Linked DNA regions of Homo sapiens: regions 2 and 3 are each linked to region 1. The links are contacts of gene promoters, found by promoter capture Hi-C in blood cells and fetal thymus (Javierre and others, 2016). All regions are on one chromosome and are shown on one strand. Each heading gives the region's core, a stretch centred on a gene start or on the middle of the fragment in contact. The rest is flanking DNA. Distances are from core to core; before and after follow the strand shown. Region 1 holds the start of MFN2 (mitofusin 2). Region 2 overlaps UBIAD1 (UbiA prenyltransferase domain containing 1). Region 3 overlaps MTOR (mechanistic target of rapamycin kinase).

Region 1 (3,504 bases), core at 71-2,570:
GCATCTGTGGTCAGCTACTTGGGAGGCTGAGTGAGGTGGGAGGATTACTTGAGCCCAGGAGTTCGAGGCTGCAGTGAGCCGTGATTGCACCACTGCACTCCAGCTTGAGTGAGAGTGAGACTCTGGCTCAAAGATAGATTTTTTTTTTCTTTTTTGAGACGGAGTCTCTGTTGCCCAGGCTGGAGTGCAGTGGCATGATCTCGGCTCACTGCAACCTCCACCGCCCGTGTTCAAGCGATTCTCCTGCCTCTTCCTCCCGAGTGCACTATCATGCCTGGCTAATTTTTGTATTTTTAGTACAGACGGGGTTTCACCATGTTGGCCAGGCTGGTCTTGAACTCCCGATGCACCCGCCTCGCCCTCCTAAAATGCTGGAATTACAGGCTTGAGCCACCGCGCCCGGTCGATATTTTTTTTTCCTAAAAATTGAGATAGTTTAACAGCCTTTTTTGTCCTAAGTCTTATAGCGCATCTCCGTTTGCACTGGCTCAGGACTCGAGAGCCACACGTGGCTAGTGCCTACTGTTCTGGCGCGCTCAGGCTTGGAGCCTTCTCTGCGGAGGCCAAGTCCTGCAAGGGATCTGTTTGCTGCGGTTTCCTAGTAGTGTCTGCCGCATCACTGGGGCCCGGTGATCTGGGTAACCATGTGAGCTTGGGTAACCTCTCCTCTCCCTCTCCTGGGACTGCTGTGGACGTTAAATACAGCGGTGGATGTTAGAGACGCAGTTCAGTCACTGGCATTGATTCGCCGTTGTTGCTGCTCTTCTTTCCTCAAAGGCGACTGAAGGGCAGCAGGCCCATGCTCGCTTCTGTCTGCCCGATGAGTCACTTCACCCTAGGCCTGGCCCTCTAGAGAACACTCCTCTAAGATTACAGAATGCAAATCTGGATTCCAGAGCTGGCAGAGGCCCCAGGGTCAGGCTCTAGGACAACCGGCGAAAAAGCGGGAACCTCTACTCCACGCCCTTGGTTTTTCGCCCCTTGACAGCTTGAGGCTCCGCCCCGCTTTGCCCCGCCCCCCCAGCTCCGGCCGACGCCCACCGGAACTACAGCCCCCATGATGCAGTGGGAGTCCGAGCCTCTGCGTCGTCCGCTTGGGACGCGCCGGCGGAGGAGTGGCGCGCGGAGGAGTGGCGCGCTGAGACGCCGCTCGAAGCGCCGAGTCGCGGGGCAGCAGAGGCGTAAGGAGTAGGCGGGGCGAGCCGGCTGGGCTCAGGGTCCACCAGCTCACCCGGGTCGAGGGGCAATCTGAGGCGACTGGTGACGCGCTTATCCACTTCCCTCCTCCCGCCTCCCCCTGGGGTGGCGCTCGCTGGTGACGTAGTGAGTGTGATGGCCGCCGCGAGGCCGGGAAGGTGAAGGTGAGAGGGCGAGCAAGCCGGGGTGGCGGGGACTGGCCCGGCCCGGCCCGGCGAGTCCTGAGCAGCTCGGCGTGGGCCGACGGGATTCTGGGGCCACGGGGGTCTGGGATGCAGTCAAGCGGGGTCCCCACTCTCCGGCCTCGCCGCCGGGCCCTCCCCGGCCCTGAGAGGAGGGGGCGGGCCACGGGACCTGGGACTGGTCGGTGGGGTCCCCTGTAGCTTCTCATCGCCCCCGCCTTTCCACCCTTCACGGCCATGTTCTACCCCTGCCCCTTCTCTATTTTTCATCCTGTCTTCATTTTGCCAGCATTTACTCAGCACCTGATAGGTGTCCACGTTCACCGCGGGAGCGCCCTGCCATCCCCACTTTGGGCAGTTACTGCCTTCTCGTTCAGCCCTGTTTACTTATATGACTTCTCACCGGACTGTAAGGCCCTGGAGGGCAGGACTGTTTCTTATCCATTTCTAACGTGGCGCCTGACACACACAGAGAAGGCACACAGAAAATGTTGAATAAATAGCTGTTAAGACGCACGAAGGCAGAACTGCCCGTTACCCCCTCTCGTAATCCTTCATTGCCCTCTTTAAATTCTCAATCATCTCTCTCTCTTCTACCCAGAAAAGGGCTCTGGTTATCTCTTTTCTACCCAGAAAAGGGCTCTGGTTATCCGCCTCTGGTGTCCCAAGGTTTGGGGCTTGGGGGAGGAAGGCAGCTCAATGTAGTTAAAAAAGGAAGGAGGCCGGTCGCAGTGGATCACACCTGTAATCCCAGCACTTTGGGAGGCTGAGGCGGGCGGATCACCTGAGGTCAGGAGTTGGAGACCAGCCTGGCCAACATGGTGAAACCCCGTCTGTGCTAAAACCAAAAACTAGCCGGGCTTGCTGGCACACGCCTGTAATCCCATCTACTCAGGAGGCTGAGGCAGGAGAATCGCTTGAACCCGGGAGGCGGAGGTTGAGCCGAGATCGCGCTGCTGCACTCCAGGAGCTTTGGAGTCAAAGGGAGCTAATATTTCAGATCCCAGCTTAGACAAATCTTCAAGTATTCCAGCCCTCTGTCCCACAGAATAGAGAATTAAGTGAGATACTTTACAGTAGCTGAACACATTGGCTTTCAGTCAGTTCTTCTGTTCCTCAATAGTCAGCTGTTCCACAGTCCTCAAGCCCAGTTTTGTTCCTAGTTTTGCTCTGTCCTCTTCTCCCCTCTCTGGATGTACCTTTCCCAGGGCTCCTGCAGGGACCTCCGTGGTGCCTCAAACCCGCACATGGCGGAATACGTGTGCACAGTCAGGATTGGTCCCACACCTCTGCGTTTTTTTCCCCAGGGCACTTCCTCACATGCCAGCGCAACTCCCCAATACCTCAATGAGTAAGCTTCCCTCAGGGATGAGTTTGTTTGGCTTGAAACCTGATTAGACATGTTTTGTACACCAGTGTTTTTTTTTTTTGGACACCGGATCCATCTCCCTTTTCTTTTCTAATAAGTCAGGACTGGTGGAGTCAACACAGTCAATCAATAGCCAACCTCAACCTGAGACAGGACAGAAGAGAACTCAGAATCTTTTTGTCTTTTGGACTTCAGCCATGTCCATGATGCCTACCCTGTGAAGATCTCTCACCATCCAAAAAAGTAAGTAGTAGCTGTGACTTCTGGCACCCTGGATTTGAGCTGAGTGGACAGGGGTGTGCTCTCCTGGACCTCTGGTGGCAAGTCTCTTGAATGGCATCCTCTTTGTATAGAGCCACAGCTTTCTAACTTGTGTTGAAAAACTACCGTATCTTTTACTTCCGTGAAGGATTTCGCTGGTTGCTTAGAGAGCCTGTTTAAAAGTTGACAGTTCAGAAGTGGCTGGGATCTCTTGGGCTCCCTGAAGAGTTAGTCTCTGTCTCCCTCATTTGGTCTCTGCTGTGCTGGCTCTTCCCCATCTCGGCCCAGCACAGGTTGGCTCCTTGTCACTGCTCTTTTAAGACTCTGCTCTGTCCCCTTTACCCTGTATACTCTTTTTGTTTCGATTTCTCAGCTTCTCCTCTTTTCCAGTTGTGCCAGCAGACGATCCGTGGATCCATTTTATTTTCCCTGCTAGGAGTTGCTGTACATAACACTGGGTAAGGAGGTGGTGTGGATTCAGGGACTGTGCTTGGG
Region 2 (3,556 bases), core at 668-3,167, 700 kb before region 1:
GTGGCCCAATAATCATGCCTGTCCACCTTGTAAATGTCATATCTTCATCATCTTTAAGGCCCCAGTTAATCATACCATTGCCTATCAATAGCTGCATAAGCATAACTCAAAGGTTTTGACCTGAGAACTGGAAGATACCATCTGGAGTGATGTCATCATGTGAGAAGGGCAAGGCTGGGGATAGAACAAGTTTTGGGGGAAAAGCAAGCAATTGACTTCGTGGTTTTTTGTTTTGTTTTTTGTTTGTTTTGAGACAGAGTCTCACTCCGTCTCCCAGGCTGGAGTGCAGTGGCATGATCTCGGCTCACTGCAGCCTCTGCCTCCCGGGTTCAAGTGATTCTCAGCCTCCCAAGTAGCTGGGATTACAGGCGTCTGCCACCATGCCTGGCTAATTTTGTATTTTTAGCAGAGACGGTGTTTCACCATGTTGTCCAGACTGGTCTCAAACTCCTGACCTCAGGTGATCCACCCACCTTGGCCTACCAAAGTGCTGGGATTACAGGCATGAGCCACTGCGCCTGGCCAACTTTGGACATCTTAATGTCTATTAAATCTCCTAACAAAGATGTCAAATGGGTAGTTCAAGTTCAGAGAAGCCTGGGCTAGAGATTACATATCTGGGAGTCATTGGTCTATAGATAAAGTTGTAGGACTGGGTGAGGTCATCAAGGGGGAGGGAGTGTTGGTAGAAAAGTCAGTCCTGGTCTGAGCCCTGGGACACTCCCACATTAGAGGTGGGGGAAGAAAAGGCACAGGTAAAGGGGATGTGAGCAAGCATCCAGAGGAGTAAGAGGAAAATCAAAAGGCTGTGGTGGCCTGGCAGCTAATTATAAAAAGTTCAGTGAAGGAAATCAATGAGGTGGTGTAATAGAAAGTACAAGGTGGTGGTGAAGGGAAGAGGCTGTCTTTGTGAAAGTGACGTTCAAACTAGGACTTGAAGACGGAAGGATAAGGAGCTGGCCACGGGGTGGAATTGGAGTCTGATTGTGATGCTGAGTCCTCCAGGGCTGAAGGACCACTAAGTGCAAATGTGGTGGGTGAGAGAGAGTGTGACATTGGCTAGGATCTACTGAAAGGTCTGTGTGAGCCAGAGGGGGCATGAGACACAGTTGGTGAGTTAGGCAGGGTCTCTGTCATGGCGATCTTAACCAGTCCTACTCCCCAACCTCCAGGGCTCAGTCCTTGGGCCTCTTTTCTCTATCTCCATGTACTCCCTTGGTGATGTAGCTCATGGCTTCAGATGCCATCTGTTAAGCTAGTGACTCTTAAACTCCAGACTCATATCCAACTTCTTGCTCAGCAACTTCTCCTAGAACTGTCTCATAAACATCTCAAGCTTAACATGTCTGAGACCAAATTCTGATCTTCTCCCCAAGGAAACCTGCTTCGCCCACAGCTTTTTCCCCATTTTGCTCAATGGCAGCTTCATCCTAGTTCTTCAGGCCAAAAGCTGTGGGCATCGTCCTTGACTCCCACGTCTCACATCCAGTTCATCAGCAAATTCTGTTGACTCTCCTTTCAAAATGCATGTAGGATCTGACCACTTCTTACCGTGTCCAGCCACCACTGTGATCATCTGTCCCTGGATTTTTGCGGCAGGCTCCCAACTGGTCTCTTTACCTCTGTTCTGGTCCCATTCAGGCTGTTCCCACTCAGCCACCAGAGTAATTCTGTTAAAATATAGGGCAGCCCTGTCAGTCCTGCTTAGAACTCTTCAGTGGCTCCCATCTTGCTCAGAGTAAAGGCCAGGGTCTTTACAGTGACTCCCTAGGGCCCTACATTCTTTGCCCACCTTTTGCCCTCCCCCCAGTTCTCTGACCCACCCTCCTCCTTTCTTCCTGCTCATCCTGGGCCAGCCACACTGCCCTTTCTAGTCCAGGAGCATGCACAACCCCTCCTGCCCCTCCCTCAGGTCCTTTGTAGATGCAGCTTCCTCTGTTTGAAATGCTTTTCCTGCTTCTAACCATGTGGTTCACTTTCTCACTTCCTTCACCTATTTGCCCAAATGTCAGCTGCTCAGTGAGGCCTTGCTTTCTACCTTGCTTAAAATTACACACCCACTCCGTGCCCCCACCTGATACTTCCCCTGCTGCTCTTCTCTGCATTAGTTTTCCTCATAGCACATGTTACCTTCTAATGTGCCATATAAAGTACTTAATTGGTTAATTATCTTCCCCCTTCGACTGCGAGCTCCCTCCCTGCAGTCAGGGATTTCTGTCTCTGGTATTAGCTGAACCCCTAGCACCCAGAGCACTGCCTGGCATGTAATATTACTTAGTAAATATCCAGTGAACAAATGGGAAGGCATTGAAATATACTGAGCAGAGTAGTGACATAATCTGGTTTAAGATTTTTTAAACATTGTCTTTTATTGACATATAATTGACACACAGTGAAATGCACAGGTTTTTAGTGTTGCAGCTTGATGAATTTTGATAAATGTATACAGTTGCATAACCCACACCCCGTCATCATCCAGAACACTTCCATCACCCCCAAAAGCTTCCCAGTGCTTCTTGCCTGTCAATCCCACACTCCCTGCCCCCATCCAGAGACAGGAAAAGAACCACTGTTCTGATTCCTCTCACAGAGATTAGTTTTGCCTGTCATATAAATGGAACCTTTCACTATGAACTATGTATGTATGTATGTATGTGTATTTATTTCAGTCTGAGCTCTCGTCTGGCTTCTTTTGCTCAGCGTGATGTTTTTGAGATTCATTGTTTTATTGCGTGTATCAGTAGTTCCTTTTTTTGCTGACTAGCATTCCATTGTAACATACCACAACTTCTTTTTATCCATTCTCCTTTTCAGGGACATTTGGATTGCTTCCATATTTTGGCTATTACGTCTGAACATTCATGTTCAAGTCTTTTTGTGGATATTTGTTTTCATTTTTCTTGGGTAAATGCCCAGGAGTAGAATTGCTGGGTCACAGGGCAGATGATGTTTAATTTTATGAGAAACTGCCAAACTGTTTTCTGAAGTGGTTGTACTTCTTTACACTCCCCCCAGCAAGTGTTCCAGTTGCTCTGCGTCTTGCCAACTTTTTGACTTAAGTCTTAACAGATTCATTCTGGCTGCCGTGTGGAGAACCGGCCCAGTATTTCACTGTGTAAGCTCATTCAGAAAATGGGGTTGGGAGAGGAGGAATGCCTAAAAGGAAATTCCCAGATGGGCCACGTCTCTGAATCAGGTAGAGCACATGAAGCCTTGGGCCATGTATCAAATGCTAGGAAACAGCTTTCTCCCCAAGGGCTCTACTGTTTTCTTGTGTCAGATAACCAGATCTTTTTCCTCCCCAGAGTGGGTTGCTCTTGGTTTTGGGGTGGGGACAGAGATCTCTGCTCAACCTTGCTTACATCACTTTTTTTTTTTTTTTTTTTCAAAAGACAGAGTTTAGCTCTTGTTGACCAGGCTGGAGTACAATGGTGCGACCTCTGCTCACTGCAACCTCTGCCTCCTGGTTCAAGCGATTCTCCTGCCTCAGCCTCCCGAGTAGCTGGGATTACAGGCGTGCACCACCATGCCCGGCTAATTTTTTTTTGTATTTTTA
Region 3 (3,712 bases), core at 729-3,228, 760 kb before region 1:
TAACTAAAACAAAAGTTAATTTTTTTTTTTTTGGAGATGGAGTCTTCCTCTGTCGCCCAGGCTGAAGTGCAGTGGTCCAATCTTGGCTCACTGCAACCTCTGTCTCCCGGGTTCAAGAAATTCTCCTGCCTCAGTCTCCTGAGTAGCTGAGACTACAGGCATGCACCACCATGCCCGGCTAATCTTTGTATTTTTAGTAGAGACGGGGTTTCGTCATGTTGGCCAGGCTGGTCTCAAACTCCTGACTTTGAGTGATCCACCTGCCTCGGCCTCCCAAAGTGTTGGGGTTACAGATGTGAGCCACCACGCTCAGCCTAAATTTTTTGTAAACTCAAGGAAATTTCTAAAAATTGAAAATAAACAGAAACAAATGAGTATAACTATAAGCCAAGTTGGCTGCACAATCACTCAAGAAGAATATCAACTGAAAGTCTTAAACTACATTTAGTCATCTTATTGTTAATACTAACATTGGTCATTTTCTATTTACATCTATAAAATATATATATATGTATGTAATCTCACTAAAAGAAATCAGAGCTCCTTGGAAATGGCTATGCCCAGGTTTGAGTGAAATATACTTGATACGCTTGGAGTAATTTTTTTCCGCCAGAAAGCAAGAAAGTCTACCGGGCCATGTAAAAAGGACACAACAGCCAGGGTGATCAGGACAATCTGATTGTGAAAAAGATTGGTGCCTGCAATGAACAGAAATATTATATATACATATATATATAGTGTATATATACATATATATATTCTATATATATAGAAATACTCTATATAGAGAGCTCTGTTTCTTTTAGTGAGATTACATATATATATGTATCTTTCTTAAACACACAAGTAGTAAAGTAAATGACCAATATTAGTATTAACAATAAGATGACTAAATGACTTTCACTTGACAGTCTTCTTTGAGTGACTGTGCAACCAACTTGGTTTACAGTATAAATAAAGATAAATTATATATATATATGTATCTTCATGAGTTCATACTGATACTCCAAAGAATGAGGGTAGGATTGGGAGGTGGGAAGGTGCCTGGCTCACCTCTGAAAAGCTGTTAGAGGCTTGACTCATTATACTAAAAAATTGATAAATTGATAAATAAAGGGAAAGATTCATGCATGTATTCTGCTTTTCCTACATGATCTACACTTCAAATTACCTCAGTAGTTGATTATATAAAGTTCTTTTTTAAAATTTATTTAAAAAAAATTTTTTTTTTTTTTGAGACGGAGTCTCGCTCTGTCACCCAGGCTGGAGTGCAGTGGCCCAATCTCGGCTCACTGCAAGCTCTACCTCCCGGGTTCATGCCATTCTCCTGTCTCAGCCTCCCACGTAGCTGGGACTACAGGTGCCTGCCACCATGCCTGGCTAATTTTTTTGTATTTTTAGTAGAGACAGGGTTTCATCGTGTTAGCCAGGATGGTCTTGATCTCCTGACCTTGTGATCCACCCGCCTCGGCCTCCCAAAGTGCTGGGATTACAGGCGTGGGCCACTGCGCCCAGCCTAAAAAAATGTTTTAAATAAAATGAGATGGGGTTTTGCTATGCTGCCCAGGTTGGTCTTACACTCCTCCTGGGCTCAAGCAATCCTCTCAACTCAGCCTCCCAAAGTGCTGATATTACAGCCACCATGCCCAGCCAAGTTCTTTATTTCTAAAGAACTTTCTAGCTAATAAATCCAGAAGGAATAATCAAATTAGAAAATCACCATTTTGGGGCACATGTTCTCAGGAGCTCCTGAGAGATATGTCATGGAAAAAAACATTTTTTTTAATAAAAAAAATATATATATAAGTAAGAAAATCACCATTTTGCAGTCCCTAATCAAATAACAGCTCTAGGAAATAACTACCAATGAATGCTAAAATGACTGGGAAAAAGGCTGATAGGGAACTTTATAACAGATGGATCAGATGACAATATCCGAACCCACTGATCAGCCTTTACATCACTAGCAGTGGGTCATATGGAAAATATCTGTTTACTAAATGTTGAAATAGGAGGTATACAGTACTGTAATCTATGAAGTATCTCTTGTCAAAAGAACAGAACCTGAATCTAATCAAGCCTCTAAATCTAACTAGTTTATAGGAAATTAAGACACTTCGAAGATACAATCAGCCAAATCCAGTATGAGAAACAGGACAAATGACCTGGTTTCTTCTACAAATACATGACTTTTTTTTTTTTTTTAAGTAGAGGGAAAAGGTAAATAAGTAGTGAAAGAATTATATACATCAACCAAATGCCAGATGTAGACCTTATATAGATTTTTATTTGAATAAACCAAATTACAATGAATTTTTAAGACAATCAGGGACATCTGAAGAAGGGTTGGTATTAAATAATACTAAGAAATGATTGTTAGCTTTGTAGGTGTCATATTTGTGGTTACATGGGAAAAAGTATGTATTGGTGAAATAATATGATACCTGTAATTTGCTTTAAAATACTGCAGAAATGTATGTACATGTGTCGGGGGGAAAGGCGATGGAGGTAAGAGATAAAACCAAATTGACAAAATGCTAGTAATTACTGATGGGTATGTGAGAATCTAATATAATAGGTTGTCTACTATATTCATGATTGAAATAGTCTATTACAAAATGTTAAGAAAAATTAAAGGTGGCCAATGAGTGAAGGCAAAAGATGAAATAAAAAATAAAGGCTCAAACAAATCCAGAAAAAGACAAAAAAGAAAGATAAACAGACAAAGCAGGACAAAAAGAATGCACTAAGTAAGATGGTGGAAATAAACGCAAACATGGCCAGGTGCAGTGGTTCACACCTGTAATCCCAGCACTTTGGGAGGCCGAGACGGGTGGATCACTTGTGGTCAGGAGTTTGAGACCAGCCTGGCCAATATGGTGAAATCCTATCTCTACTAAAAATACAAAATTAGCTGGGCATGGTAGCATGCACCTATAATCCCAGCTACCTGGGAGGGTGAGGCAGGAGAATCACTTGAACCCAAGAGGCAGAGGTTGCAGTGAGCCGAGATCACACCATTGCACTCCACCCTGGCAACAAGAGCGATACTCCGTCTCAAAATAAAATAAAATAAAATAAAATAAAATAAAATAAAATAAAATAAATAGGCCAAATATAACAGCAATCACAATAAATGCAATTGGCCTAGAATGCACTGGTTAAAAGACAAACATTTTTAAATTGGATTAAAAAGATAATCTAGCTATATTTACAAGACAGCATCCAAAACAAAAAGTCACAAGACAGTTAAAAGTAAAAGAATTGGAAAAGACATATACCTCCAAAAAAAAGCTGGTACAGCTATATTAATGTTACGTAAAATACGTTTTAAGGTATTATTAAAGATAAGAAGGATTATTGCATAATGATAAAAGAGTCAACTTACCAGGAAGATATCAGGATTTAAAATTTGCATGCATCTAGTAATATAATCTCAAAGATACATAAAACAAGATTGACTAAACTATCAGAAAAAAGCCCACCAATGTAAAGGGAGATTTTTGTCTCACTTCTCTCAGTATTGATAGATCAAACAAACAAAAATTAGAAGGACACAAAAGATTTGAACACAATAAGTAATAAATTCAATCTAATGACTTATGTAAAACCCTGTCCATAACGTTAGCAAATACACAAGTATTCCCAAGGATATAGGAAATATTTATGAAAATCAATCAACCACTAGACCATTAAAGCAGTTCCAGCAAGC

Evidence for each region. The method cuts DNA at HindIII sites, captures the fragments that hold promoters and counts their contacts. A CHiCAGO score of 5 or more calls a contact.
Region 2: a contact is called between a fragment that was not itself captured here and the fragment with the promoter of MFN2 in region 1, in 2 of 17 cell types (naive B cells and monocytes). The highest score is 5.5, in naive B cells.
Region 3: a contact is called between a fragment that was not itself captured here and the fragment with the promoter of MFN2 in region 1, in 1 of 17 cell types (total B cells). The highest score is 5.4, in total B cells.

What each region holds. Positions count from the first base shown.
Region 1 is chr1:11,979,124-11,982,627 of GRCh38, forward strand. It overlaps MFN2 (mitofusin 2), which reads left to right and starts at 1,321. Exons shown (of 19, transcript NM_014874.4): 1 at 1,321-1,361; 2 at 2,847-2,991. RefSeq lists silencers at 937-1,196, 1,367-1,606 and an enhancer at 3,063-3,162. The HindIII fragment of the contact is 7,841 bases long and covers 1-2,733 here.
Region 2 is chr1:11,279,192-11,282,747 of GRCh38, forward strand. All of the region lies in intron 1 of UBIAD1 (UbiA prenyltransferase domain containing 1), which reads left to right. It also overlaps the pseudogene UBE2V2P3. Among named protein-coding and RNA genes, the nearest start is that of UBIAD1, 7.8 kb to the left of the region's middle. The HindIII fragment of the contact is 1,166 bases long and covers 1,335-2,500 here.
Region 3 is chr1:11,220,980-11,224,691 of GRCh38, forward strand. All of the region lies in intron 19 of MTOR (mechanistic target of rapamycin kinase), which reads right to left. Among named protein-coding and RNA genes, the nearest start is that of ANGPTL7, 33 kb to the left of the region's middle. The HindIII fragment of the contact is 4,597 bases long and covers 1-3,712 here.